Linked DNA regions of Homo sapiens: region 2 is linked to region 1. The links are contacts of gene promoters, found by promoter capture Hi-C in human tissues and cell types (Jung and others, 2019). All regions are on one chromosome and are shown on one strand. The core of a region is centred on a gene start or on the middle of the fragment in contact, and the rest is flanking DNA. Distances in the headings are between cores, read along the strand shown.

Evidence for each region. The method cuts DNA at HindIII sites, captures the fragments that hold promoters and counts their contacts. A contact is called where the count stands out against the background at its distance.
Region 2: a contact is called between a fragment that was not itself captured here and the fragment with the promoter of NDST3 in region 1, in 2 of the 25 tissues and cell types used here (dorsolateral prefrontal cortex and mesenchymal stem cells).

What each region holds. Positions count from the first base shown.
Region 1 is chr4:118,032,321-118,038,603 of GRCh38, forward strand. NDST3 (N-deacetylase and N-sulfotransferase 3) reads left to right here and starts at 2,166. Exons shown (of 14, transcript NM_004784.3): 1 at 2,166-2,272. The HindIII fragment of the contact is 9,214 bases long and covers 1-4,382 here.
Region 2 is chr4:117,694,371-117,700,701 of GRCh38, forward strand. No RefSeq gene overlaps it. Among named protein-coding and RNA genes, the nearest start is that of LINC02264, 140 kb to the right of the region's middle. The HindIII fragment of the contact is 7,205 bases long and covers 1-5,458 here.

The DNA of each region.
Region 1 (6,283 bases), core at 916-3,415:
CCATCCTGGCTTACACGGTGAAACCCCGTCTCTACCAAAATACAAAAAATTATCCGGGCCTGGTGGCGGGCTCCTATAGTCCCAGCTACTCGGGAGGCTGAGGCAGGAGAATGGTGGGAACCCGGGAGACGTAGCTTGCAGTGAGCTGAGATCACGCCACTGCACTCCAGCCTGGGCGACAGAGCGCGACTCCGAATCAAAAAAAAAAGTGAATGTATTTGTTTATGAATGAAAATATCCAGAGATAGAACTTATTTCAGCTACAGCTCGATTCCAAGCTCGAAAATCTCCATCTGGGTTTCACTTTTCTCCAACTCTCAGTTCTGCCTTCCTGAGTATCAGCTTTATTTTCAGACTTCAAGCTCTAAGCTCACATCTTCATTATGCAAAGTCCAGTAGAAGAGAGTCCACTTTCTTAAGAGAGGAAGGAAAAAAAAAAGTCCCAGAATGGTGGTTTTTTTCTGTTTTTCTCTCTGATTGGCCAGACCTGGGTTACATACCTACCCATGCTACCAGGACAGAAAGCCATCACTGGCCAGACCTGAGCTGTGGGTCTACCAGTGAGTCAGCAGCGGCTGACATCACCTAAAGCAAATGGGCTGCGGGGTGAGATCAAGTGGTTGGATCTTCCAAAATGAACAGGAGTACTGTTTCAACAAGAGTGAGTGCTGGGAAGCAAAACCACAAATGGCCAATACAAAGTATCATTAGTAGACCCCACTTAATACAATTCACATGTTAGTGGAACCAAATGAAATTTTTAAAAATATATATCATTCGATTCACACTTCTAATCAAACTATAGTTCTGGAGAGGGTAACCTCACACCTTGAATCCAAAATATCTCTTCAGTTGCTGGCCTTCCACTTGTCTTCAGGAGCTGAAACACATGGCATTTGAAAAAAACTGGCGAACAGAGGAAACTCTTGCAGCCTCGCAGCCGCCCTGGTCCAGTGCCAACGGCAGGAGCACCACAGGAAGGGACCGCGCGGGTGCGCCCCACCCTTCCAGCGTCGCCTCGGGGACTCGCACCCCTTTCCCTGGCCGCACAAGACGTTTCATCCTTGGCGGCCGCCGCCAACCCGCCGGGAGGGGCGGTCGGAACTGGCAGGCCGGGGCGGAACCCCCGGGGTCTCCTTGTCGAGGCCCGGGCAGCCAGATCCTCAGGGCCGGTCCGGGCGGGAGCCCGGTCGATGGAGGCGGCTCCCGTCCTCAGCTCCCGCTCCCTCCCCTTCCCCGGGGCGGGCGCGCGCGGGCCGGGAGCTGGGAGGCGGCGGCTCCCGCCCGGGAGGCGGTGGCGAGGGCGGCGGAGGCGCGGCCGGGCGGGTCCCAGGGCCGTGGTTCTCCAGCGCAGGAGTCCCCGGCGCACCCGCTGCGCTCGCCCCGCAGCCGCAGCCTGAGCGGCCGAAGTCGCCACCAGCTGTGTCCGCGCAGATCCCGGGCGCGGAGGGGAGAGGTCGCCCGCTTGTCGCCCCCGCCGGACCCCGGGCACCGCGTAGCACCCAAGCGCCACCCGGACGAGGGGCCCTGGGGAGCGGCTGAGGCCGAAGACCCGAGGGAAGGAGGAGCCCGCGGACGGCTGCAGCCCCAGGTAATCTCCATGGAGGACGGGGCCGGTCTCCTCGCCCAGAAACCCGATCCGGGCGCCTTGGAATGCGGACTCCAGAGGCGGCATCTCGACCAGACAAGTTTCTCGCGGCTTGGAATGAGGGAGTCCTGAAACCGACACTCGTTTTATTTAACCAGCTTTTTTCTCCTGTTTTAAATAAGTTTATTTAGACAATGGAAAGAAAAAAACAAACAGCCTCTTGAGTGACTGTGGGTTTGTAAATATAATCCTAAAAGTTTTTCATGGTGTGGTTATTTGCTTGCTCATATTTATTAACCTGTTAACTCTTCCGCTAGTCAGAAAATTGACATGTAAAATATTCTTTGAGGAACGTTACAAGTTTGCTGTTGTATTCGGGCATCCTGTTATTCATCAGCTTAGTTAGCATCTGTCTTCCCCCGAAGTGGTACCAAAGCCGGTCCCTTGGCGACGGGTCTTGCATGTGACACTCTTGCCCTCTAGTGCCTCACCAGCTTGGTAGCAGTTTGATGGCTAATATTAATAAGATGTTACATAACATGAGAGTACTGGGCCAGGACTGGTGTTGCTACCACTTGTAAAGTCAAAAAGCCTGAGCCGATGGTAACGAGTGGTACTGTTTCCGTTTCTTTTCCATCTATTGCAACTTTCTCAAGCATTTTCAGCTCTGAACTTTAATTCCAGGTAAGTGTATTTATTTATTTATACTGTGCATTAATGCCTCACTCATAAATGTAGGGGCTTTTAAGAGATAACAACTTTGCTTTCAAATAATCTAAAAATTTCAAGATTGAACAAGTGCTTCATTTTATTCTTGAAGAAGAAATATAGAGTATTTTGATTAAATTAAGTGAAACAAAGGACCGTCTCATTCAGGGATGATTTTAAAGCTTCCCTTTCATAAGATTATGGTACTAAAGAAATGACCTCTTGTAATTGTTTAAGATATTCACCAACTTATAATGATTCTGAAGTAGATCTGTTTAACAGAACACATGTCTGTTGCCTTGACAGAATTTTGTAAGGAATATCAGAGACTTTAAACTACCTGCCTATCTACACAGTAATGATCCTCAAAAGGCTTTCTATTTGATGCAGTTTATAGACATTATTTAAAACTATACAATTAATAAAATTAAATGGAAATGGAAAGAATCAATCTAGGTATCAAATACAGAAACTTTAAATTTAAAGAAAACAGATATATCTTCTATTTAATATATCCATTTTGTGGGGGCAGGTAAAAGCAAAGTTACATCTTTAAGGGGTTTACTCAGATCCTTTTTCAAATAGTTTTTCTAATAGCTGGATACTGTTTAAGCATCAGAGTTATTTAATGTCGAAAATGTATTAGTATCTATATTCTTTATAAACATATTGAAATATAGCAACATGTAATCTGGAAGAGTTTAGAAGAAAACCCTTCTAGACAATGCAAACAGCTACATTCTTAATACATTTGTATTAAATTAAAATACAAATCAAATATTGAGATGTGTGCAACTGATCTGGGACACACACTTTTTTTTTGTTTTTTTTTTTTGCCCTTAGAAAATTTCATGTTATCAACTACTGAGCAATGCTGTTCACCACCAGAGAGCAGGATGATATGGCAGAGAAACTCTAGAATATCCGATATTCAGCTGAAGGGAATTTTTTTCCCTTTTTCTTCATCCATACCTTCCTATCAATATTATATTTAAGATGGAGATTTCAAATATAAGTTTGAAGGAGGCTCCTTTTTAAAATAGTACTGAACATATAAAGAGGCTTGCCTAAGATAAGCTCTTTTTTTTCTTTCTCTGGTTAACACAGTATCTACCATTTCTAATTTTGTTATCATTTTTCTTTATCATCTTGATGGTAAAACAGAAGATTTGTTTCTTTGTGTAAATAATGTTAATTTTGAGCTTGTCACATGAGTTAATTTTCTTCATAGTCTTTAAAATGAAGAATTCTTACATTACTAAAATGTTTTAGATAAAATAAAACTTTTATCTCTTTCTGGAGATATTTGTTATAGTTTAGTTTGGTGGAGTTATATATACCCTCTTTTTAAATTAATTTTCTTGAGAAAAGCATTATTTCTGAACATTGAGGCAAATATTAATTTTTGGTGTAACTGAAAAGTTTGTTAAAAAATATATAGTAGAAGAGATAATCAGGCATTGGAGATTCTTTTTCTAAACCATATATTCTGCTAAAGAAGTTATTATAAGCTAAAATGTAAATATGTAATTGTCTACCTGTCATTTCAAAATTTTAAAACTGTAAAGAAATTACAATTTTTTTTCTTTTAATCTTGGGACTCTGATTATATGACTTCCTTGAAACCTGATTGAGTTTCAGCTGCTTTTTGGTGATTAGAGCCTTAAAAGTGCATTTGTTAAGATGCAAAATATATTTTTTTAAACTATATGTAAATACTTTGTGATTTATATACACTATAAAATCAGGGAAATTGAATTAAGGATAAAAACACTATTCTCAACTAAATGAATGCCTTGAATTTCTAATTGCTTAACAGTTCTGACAGTAAGGGAAAACAGTAGAAGTTTACTTTCCCTGTGCTGTGTCTATTATAAATGAGCATTCACACTGAAATGCATGAACTCTGAACACCTGTCCAGATTAGGAATGCTGCCAGGCCACAAAAGTAACGACCTACATTATAAAGATAATTAGTCTGAACAATCCTCAAAACTATTTCATGACTGAAGTTTCTCGTAAAGGGGTGATTTTAATATTTCTTGGTTTGTCTGTTTGTTTATAGTAAAAAACTATACTCTTAGATACCTGGATATCACAGTGAGTGATTTATTCTTTCATGTTACTCTAAACATTTTCATCGATTTCATGTAAGTTACAGGACAAGAAAAAAAAAGTAGTCAGGACCTACTACAATTAATTAATGTCTATAAGAAATTATTTCCCCAAATCTTCTACAAATTACTGAGGGCTATAATTCTTGATTACCTGTTGCCAAATAAGAGCTTAAAAATCAATTATTGCAGTCCTATCCTAAAACCTTTAAGCATCTCAATTATGGGTATCCATTTTACATGTGTTTCATTGCTGAATTTTTTTTTTCATTAAAATATTTGAAAATAACATGAAAGTAGACCTAAATTCTAGGACTGGCTCTGCCAAGACAGGAGTGGCCTTGAACAGCTCCCTTGCTGGCTCTGGGGCTTGGTTTCTTCACCTGAAAAATGAGGATTCCAGAGACCCTTTTTTATCCTGTTTGTTCAACATTTTAGAAATTGATCTGGAGGCCAGGACGAAGATAGATGAGAAAACATCAGTGAATAATACAAAATTTAACTTGGTGATAAGTACTATTGTCTAGATTTCTGCTAAGTAGAGATGTTACAGTTTTTACTCATAGAATAGTTACCTTGTACCAGGCACTGTTCTACTTTACATATTAATTTTTAGCTCATATAATCTTCACAAAGATTATTTAAGGTAAATATTATTCCTGTTTCACAAATGAGGAAATTGAGGCACTGAGCGGTTACCTACCTGCCTAAGATCACATCCCTGGCAAGTGCTGAAGCTGGTATGCAGTTTGAGTCCGGCTCCAGCACACATTCCTTTAACCGTTATACTACATTGTCTCTCTATAGGTTTCAAATATTTGTTCTTGATATGCCTCTTGATGGAACAGAGGTAATCCATATACCACTCCAACAATTTCCATCACTTCCCTTACATATGAAATACTCATTCATTCACCCAGGAGGTATTTACTAAGCATCTACTTTTGCACCAGGCATAAAGGAGTCCACAGGACAATTAAATGTGGTGCCTTCCCTAGCTAAGTATATACAGTCTAGTTCAGGTGATTTCTTTCTCCTCTTTTGCTACTGCTGTTAGGTTGAGTCTCACTTGTTCTAAAATGTGCCCAAGGTAACAGAAGAATAATTTACCTGACGCCTTTATTGATGTGTCCATAGAATAGAGAGTAATAGAACCTTCAACCTCCTCAAGACTCCCTATATCATATTTTTTCATTATTCGTTTCTACTCTTTTTGCATCATCTTCTCTCTGCAGATTGGCTGTCTTTCCTTATCTGGTTCATGTAACCTGCCCTAAAACATAGCCAACACTGATCTGTAACTTTACATCTAATGGTCCAGGCAACCAATGAGAGGCCAGGTTAACACTCTCTTGTTCCCATGAGTCTAATGAAGGACAAAGAAAAGGTTTGGATTAGACCCTAAAAGCTGCATTGTCAGCACTCACATATGTCATATGTGAGCATGTGTGACAGAATATGTCAGCGTATTTTGATGCATGCATTCTGGTCCAATCTTAGAGGGTAAAGGCAGACATTTTCCCCCTTAAGTCATATAGGGCAGAATAAACAGCAAACAGCAGTGGGGTAGTTTTCTTCTCTTGCATCACTGGATGGCATAACACTGAGGGAGGTGAATAAAACATATTCTTCTCTTCATAATTTCTAATACAAAGATGGAGGGAGAATGATAATAGAAAGTCATTTTCCATTTAATGTACCAAACAAAGCTAATGCCCTCAAGTGCAGCTTTTCTCCCATCCATCTTTTAAAAATTGCAGTTCTAGAGACAGAGTGTATTCTTGGTCATACTCCATGTAAATCAGCTTCTTACTTGCCTACCACAGCAGGGTTTAATTAACATGACACAATTTCACACATTCTTTCCCAAAGA
Region 2 (6,331 bases), core at 606-3,105, 340 kb before region 1:
GTTTACAAGAAACCCACCTAACTGGTAAAGATATTCATAAAGCCAAAGTCTGCAATTTTTCCTCAAAGGGCTGGAAAAAGATATTCCATGCAGACAAAAATAAAAAGCGAGCAAGAGTAGTTATATAACATAAAGCAGGCTTTAAATCAACAACAGTAAAAATAGATGAAAGGGTCATTATATAATGATAAAAGGATTAATTCAATAAGATGTAACAATCCTAAATGCTTATGCACCCTATACCAGAGCACTCAGATCTATAAAACAAATACTACTAGTACTAAGAAAAGAGATGGATCACAGTACAATAATGGTGGGGGACTTCAACATCCCACTGAGAGCACTAAACATTATCAAGAAAGAAAATCAACAAATAAACTCTGGACTTAAATTGGACTCTAGACCAAATGCACCTACTAGACATTTACAGAACACTTTACATAACAATTGCAAAATATACATTCTTCTTATATATGAATGGAACATTCTCCAAAATAGATTATATGACAGGCCACAAAGCAAGTCTCAATACATTTTAAAAAACATCAAAATCATGTCAGGAGTCTTCTCAGACCACAGTGGAATAAAACTGGAAATTAATACCAAGAGGAACTCTGAAAACTAAACAAACACATTGAAATAAAACAACCTAGTCCTGAATGATCATTATGTCAATGATAAAATTAAGACAGAAGTTTTTTTGTTTAATATTGTAACAAATGAAAATACAAACAAAATATATCAAAAATATCAATACAAATACAAATACAATACAAAATACAAACACAATATATCAAAACTTCTGTGGTACAGCAAAAGCAGTGCTAAGAGGGAACTTTATAGTGTTAAATGCCTAGATCAAAACGATAGAAAACGCTCAAATTACAAACCCAATGTCACACCTCAAGGAACTAGAATACCAAAATAAGCTAACCGAAAGTTTTAAGAAGAAAAAAAAAAAACAAAGACGAGAGCAGAACTAAATGAAATTGAGACTAAAAATAAGGAACAAAGGATCGATGAAACAAAAAGTTAGTTATTTGAAAAATAAATAAAGTTGATAGACTGCTAGCTAGATTAACCAAGAAAAAGAGAAGAGTCAAATTAAGCATAACCAAAAATGATAAAGGTGACATTACAACTGATACCACAGAAATACAAATGATCATCAAAGGCTACTATGAGCATCTGTAGGTGCACAAACTAAAAAAATTATAAGAAATGAATGAATTTCTGAAAACATACAATGTAGCATTGTTGAACCAGGAAGAATAGAAATCCTCAAAAGACCAGGAATGAGTAGTGCAATTGAATCAGTAATAAAAAATCTCCTAACAAAACAAAGGCCAAGACCAGATGGATTCTCAGCCAAATCCTACCAGATATACAAAAAAGAACTGTTACCAATTCTACTGAAACAGTTTCAAAAAAATTGAGGAGAAGGGAATCTTTCCTAATTCATTTTACAAAGCCAGTATCAACTTGATACTAAGCCAGGAAAGGTCACAAGAAGAAGAAAGAAAACTACAGACCAATACCCCTAATGAATATAGATGCAAAAATCCTCAACAAAATTCTGGCAAAACCAATTCAACAGCACATCAGAAAGATAGTACACCATTATCAAGCGTGTTTTATCCCAGGGATGTAAGGATAATTCAACATGCACAAATCAATAAATGTGATTTACCACATAAAAAGAATTATAAACAAAAAGCTTCTGATCATCTCAATGATGCATAAAAAGCATTCAGTAAAATTCAGCATTGCTTAATGATAAAAACTTTCAACCAACTAGGCATTGAAGGAATATACATCAAAATAATAAAAGCCACATATTACAAACCCACAGCTAACATCACACTGAATGGGGGAAACCTGAAAGCGCTCCCCCTAAGAACTGAAACAAGTCAAGCGTGCCCACTTTCACCCAGCCATAATCCACACAGTACTGGAAGTTCTAGCCAGATCAATCAGGCAATAGAAGATAACAAAAGGCAGCCAAACTGCAAAAGAGCAAATCAAATTATCTCTGTTCGCTGATGATAAAATCTTGTACCTAGAAAACCCTAAAGACCCTTCCAAAAAATTCCCAGATTAGATAAATAACTTCGGCAAAGTTTCAGAATACAAGTAACATGTACAATAATCAGTAGCATTTCTATATGCCAGTAACAATTAAGCTAAGAGCCAAATAAAGAATGCAATCTTATTTACAATAGCCACAAAAATAAAATAAAATACCCAGCAATGCATTTAACCAAGAGGTAAAATATCTCTACCAGGAGAACTACAAAACACTAATGAAAGAATTTGCAGATGATACAAACAAATGAAAAACATCCCATGCTCATTAATTAGAAAAATCAATATTTTTAGAATGAACATACTCCCCAAGACAACCACCTACAGACTCAACAGAATTCCTATCAAATTACCAATGTTTTCTTTTTAATTTTTTATTTCCATAGGTTTTGGGGGAACACATTGTATTTGGTTACATTGGTAAGTAATTATAGTGGTGATTTGTGAGATTTTGGTGCACCCATTACCTAAGCAGTATATACTGAACCCAATTTATAGTCCCTCGCCTCTCCCACCCTTTCCCTTGAGTCCCCAAAGTTCATTTTATCTTTCTTATGCCTTTGCATCCTCATAGCTTAGCTCCCAATTATGAGTGAGAACACACAATGTTTGGTTTTCCATTTCTGAGTTATTCACTTAGAATAATAGTCTCCAGTTCCACCCAGGTTGCTGTGAATTTTTAAAAAATCTTAATGTTCACATGGAAACAAAAAGGAACCTGAATAGCCAGAGCTATCCTAAGCAAAAAACTAAACCTCGAGGCATCATATTACCTGACTTCAAATTATACTACTAGAATACTATAGTAACCAAAACAGCATGATACTGATATAAAAATAGACACATAGATCAATGGAACAGAATAGACAACACAGAAATAAAGCTACATATCTACAATCAACTGATCTTCAACAAAGTCAACAAAAATACACACTGAAAAATAAACACCCTATTCAACAAATGGGGCTAAGAAAACTGGATAGCTATATGCAGAAGAAGGAAACTGGACCCCTATTCCTCAACATATATAGAAATTAACACAAGATGAACTAAAGACTTAAATGTAAGAACTGAAACTGTAAAAATCCTAGAAGAAAACCTAATAAAACTCTTCCGGACATCGAGCGAGGCAAAGAATTTATGACTAAGTTCTCAAAAGCAAACACAACAAAAACAATAATAGACAAATAAGACTGAATCAAACTAAAAGCATCTGCACAGAAAAATTAATAATCTATGTATTATTAGGTTGTAAACAGACAACCTACAGAATGGGGGGAAATATTGGCAAACTATGCATCCAACAAAAGGCCAATATCCAGAAGCCACAAAGAACTAAAACAGCTCAGCAAGCACAAAACAAGCAATTCTATTAAAAAGTGAACATATATTTTTCAAAAGAAGACACACAAGCAACCAGCAAACATTTTAAAAAAAAGTTTGACATAACTAATCATCAGAGAAATGCAAATTAAAACCACAGTGAGATACCATCATACACCAGTCAGAATGGCTATTATTAAAAAGTCAAAAATAACATGTGTTGGTGAGGATGCAATGAAAAGGGAATGGTTACATGCTGTCAGTGGAAATGTAAATTAGTAAAAACCTCTATGGAAAACAGTATAAAGATTTCTCAAAAAAACTGAAAATAGAGCTATCATTCTACACAGCAATCCCCCTGTGGGGTATCTACCGAAAGGAAAAGAAGGCATTATATAAAAAAGACTCCTCCACATCTATTTTTAATACAGCACTATTCACAATAGCAAATTTATGAAATCAACCTAGGTGTCTGTCAGCAAACGATTAGATAAAGATGTGGGGTGTGTTCGTGTGTGTGTGTGTGTGTGTGTGTGTGTGTGTGTGTGTGTACATCATGGAACATTACTCAATTATAAAAAAAGAATTAAATCGTGTCTTCTGCAGCAACATGGATGGGCTGGAGGCCATTATCCTAAATGAAATAACTCAGAAACAGAAAGTTAAATGCTGCATATTCTCACTTATAAGTGGGAGCTAAACAATGAGTACACGTGGACACACAGAGTGGAATAATAGACATGAAGGCTCTGAAAGATGGGAGCATGGAAGGGGGTGAGGGTTGAAAAATTACCTATTGAGCACAATGTTCACTATTTGGGTGATGGTTACACTAAAAGCCAGATTTCACCACTATGCAATGTATCCGTGTAACAGAACTGCACTTGTACTCCCTAAATTTGTATAAATAAAAATTTTTTAAAATAAAGCATACGTATGTTTGCCTTTTAACTGAATTTGTAAACCTGTGTAATATAAATCAATGAAGAAAGAAAATATTCTCAATATTTGCTAAATAAATAAATGCTTCAAATAATTTGTGAAAGGTCATATCCCATAATATGCACTGAGCATTAAAAATTAGCTGCACATGCTGAAAACATGTAATGATTTCTGTTCTCATATATAAAAATTTGTTTTTAGTATCTCCCTACTTTTAGCTCTTTTGGGTTAAAACTAAAATACATTTGGTTCAATTTAGCTTTCATTAAGACATTATTTTAGCTGAGTGTCTTGAATAAATAAATGGAGATTTGAAAGAGATAGATAATAAATTAGGGCTAAAAACCACCGATTCCTAATTATATGTGCAGATATCCTCACTACACACATAATTAGGAAGATGTCCTATATAATATGCATAGATTCTAACTTCCTTGGAAGTTATATCCTCTGGAAATTTTTATCATTCTTTACGCTAACAATTAAGGTAAAGAATATTTAAATAATATGCAAACAGGTAGTGTAGATTTTAATATGATCATATCAATGGAAACAGGATAAAAACTTTTATATCAAAAAATGAATTTATTAAAAATGTTCAAAACACCGTGCTTGATGCTGCATTAGTGGTGGGGGTAGCAATAGTAAATAAAGTGTGAACAAGAACCCCAAGGAACACATTCACTGAGGAAAAAAAGATAATTCTATGAAAGTCACTCCATTTAATATTTATAGATTTTAGAAGGGGATCAGAATGGTGATATAAATATTAAAACATTATGTGGAGACATGTAGTTAAAATGATTCTATATGTTCACAATTGGACATAGCTTTTCTCCTCTAAACATTTAGTATTGATAGAAAAAGATTTAAAAAACAAAAGAGCTTCTAAAAATAGATGAACATCCTGGGGAAGAAAGAAAACAAATTCAAGCAATGATTTGGCTGAAGACATATGCCTGCTGTACTAGGGAGCTTAAAGCAGACAGCATTACTCTACAACCTTGGCTGCTATGGGGTAAAGAAGACTAAAGCACTCTGCGTTGGAACTGCAAAGTAGATCTTGGTGCTCTACTTAGAGCCAGTGGCTTTAGTGGGTTTTCTCTACTTGTGAAAGGAGAGCAAAGAAAAAGCTCAATCTTGCAAACACAGTCTGTGCTGTGGTTTTTAGCAATAAGAGAGTATCTGGCCGTAGAAAGATGCAGACTTTGCCTCCTAACCAAGAATTGCAACAAGCTGCCTGCAGTCAAATCTGTGGTATTCTTGAGGTTATCACTAGGCAGAGGTCCCATAGTGCCAAATCCTTGGGAATCACAATGGACTACTGTACATTTATTGTAAGCGGTCCCAATTGCAGCACTGTGTAGGTGAGTTTTCTTTGCTGGATCAGAAAACAGTGCTACAGGCACAACTTATGGGGCCACTTATTGGAAAATGTATTCTTTTCCATCCCTACAGAAATGATATTTATAATATTGTATTAATTGGACCAGCTAAGCAAGAAACAATGAGTATATTGCAGGACTCTGTAAGACATGTGTGCTCTAAAGAATGGAAGATAAATTCTATGAAGATCGAAGTTACTGCCACTTCAGCAAAATTTTTAGTATTGCAGGAATCAGAGAGGCGCTAGACATGCACTATGAAATAAAAGACAAATTGTTGCATCTTAAATTCCAAGAAGGAAGCTCAATATCTGATCATCTTCTTTGGGATCTGAAAGTAGTTATGTACAATGGAGAATAATGCTTTGGCCCTTATTCTCAATCACACGGAATTCTGCCAGCTTTGAGTGTGGCTTAGGGTAGGAAAGGGCTCTGCAGCAGTCAAGGCTATATTACAAGTAGATCTGCCACAGGGCTTATTATCTGAGCACACACTATGGTGTTGCAGGTGTCAATGGTGAAAAAAGATAAGGTGGGGAGTTAATGTCAGCCCCCAGTGGGAGAATCATCTTAAGCCCTTGGGTTCTGGAACAAAA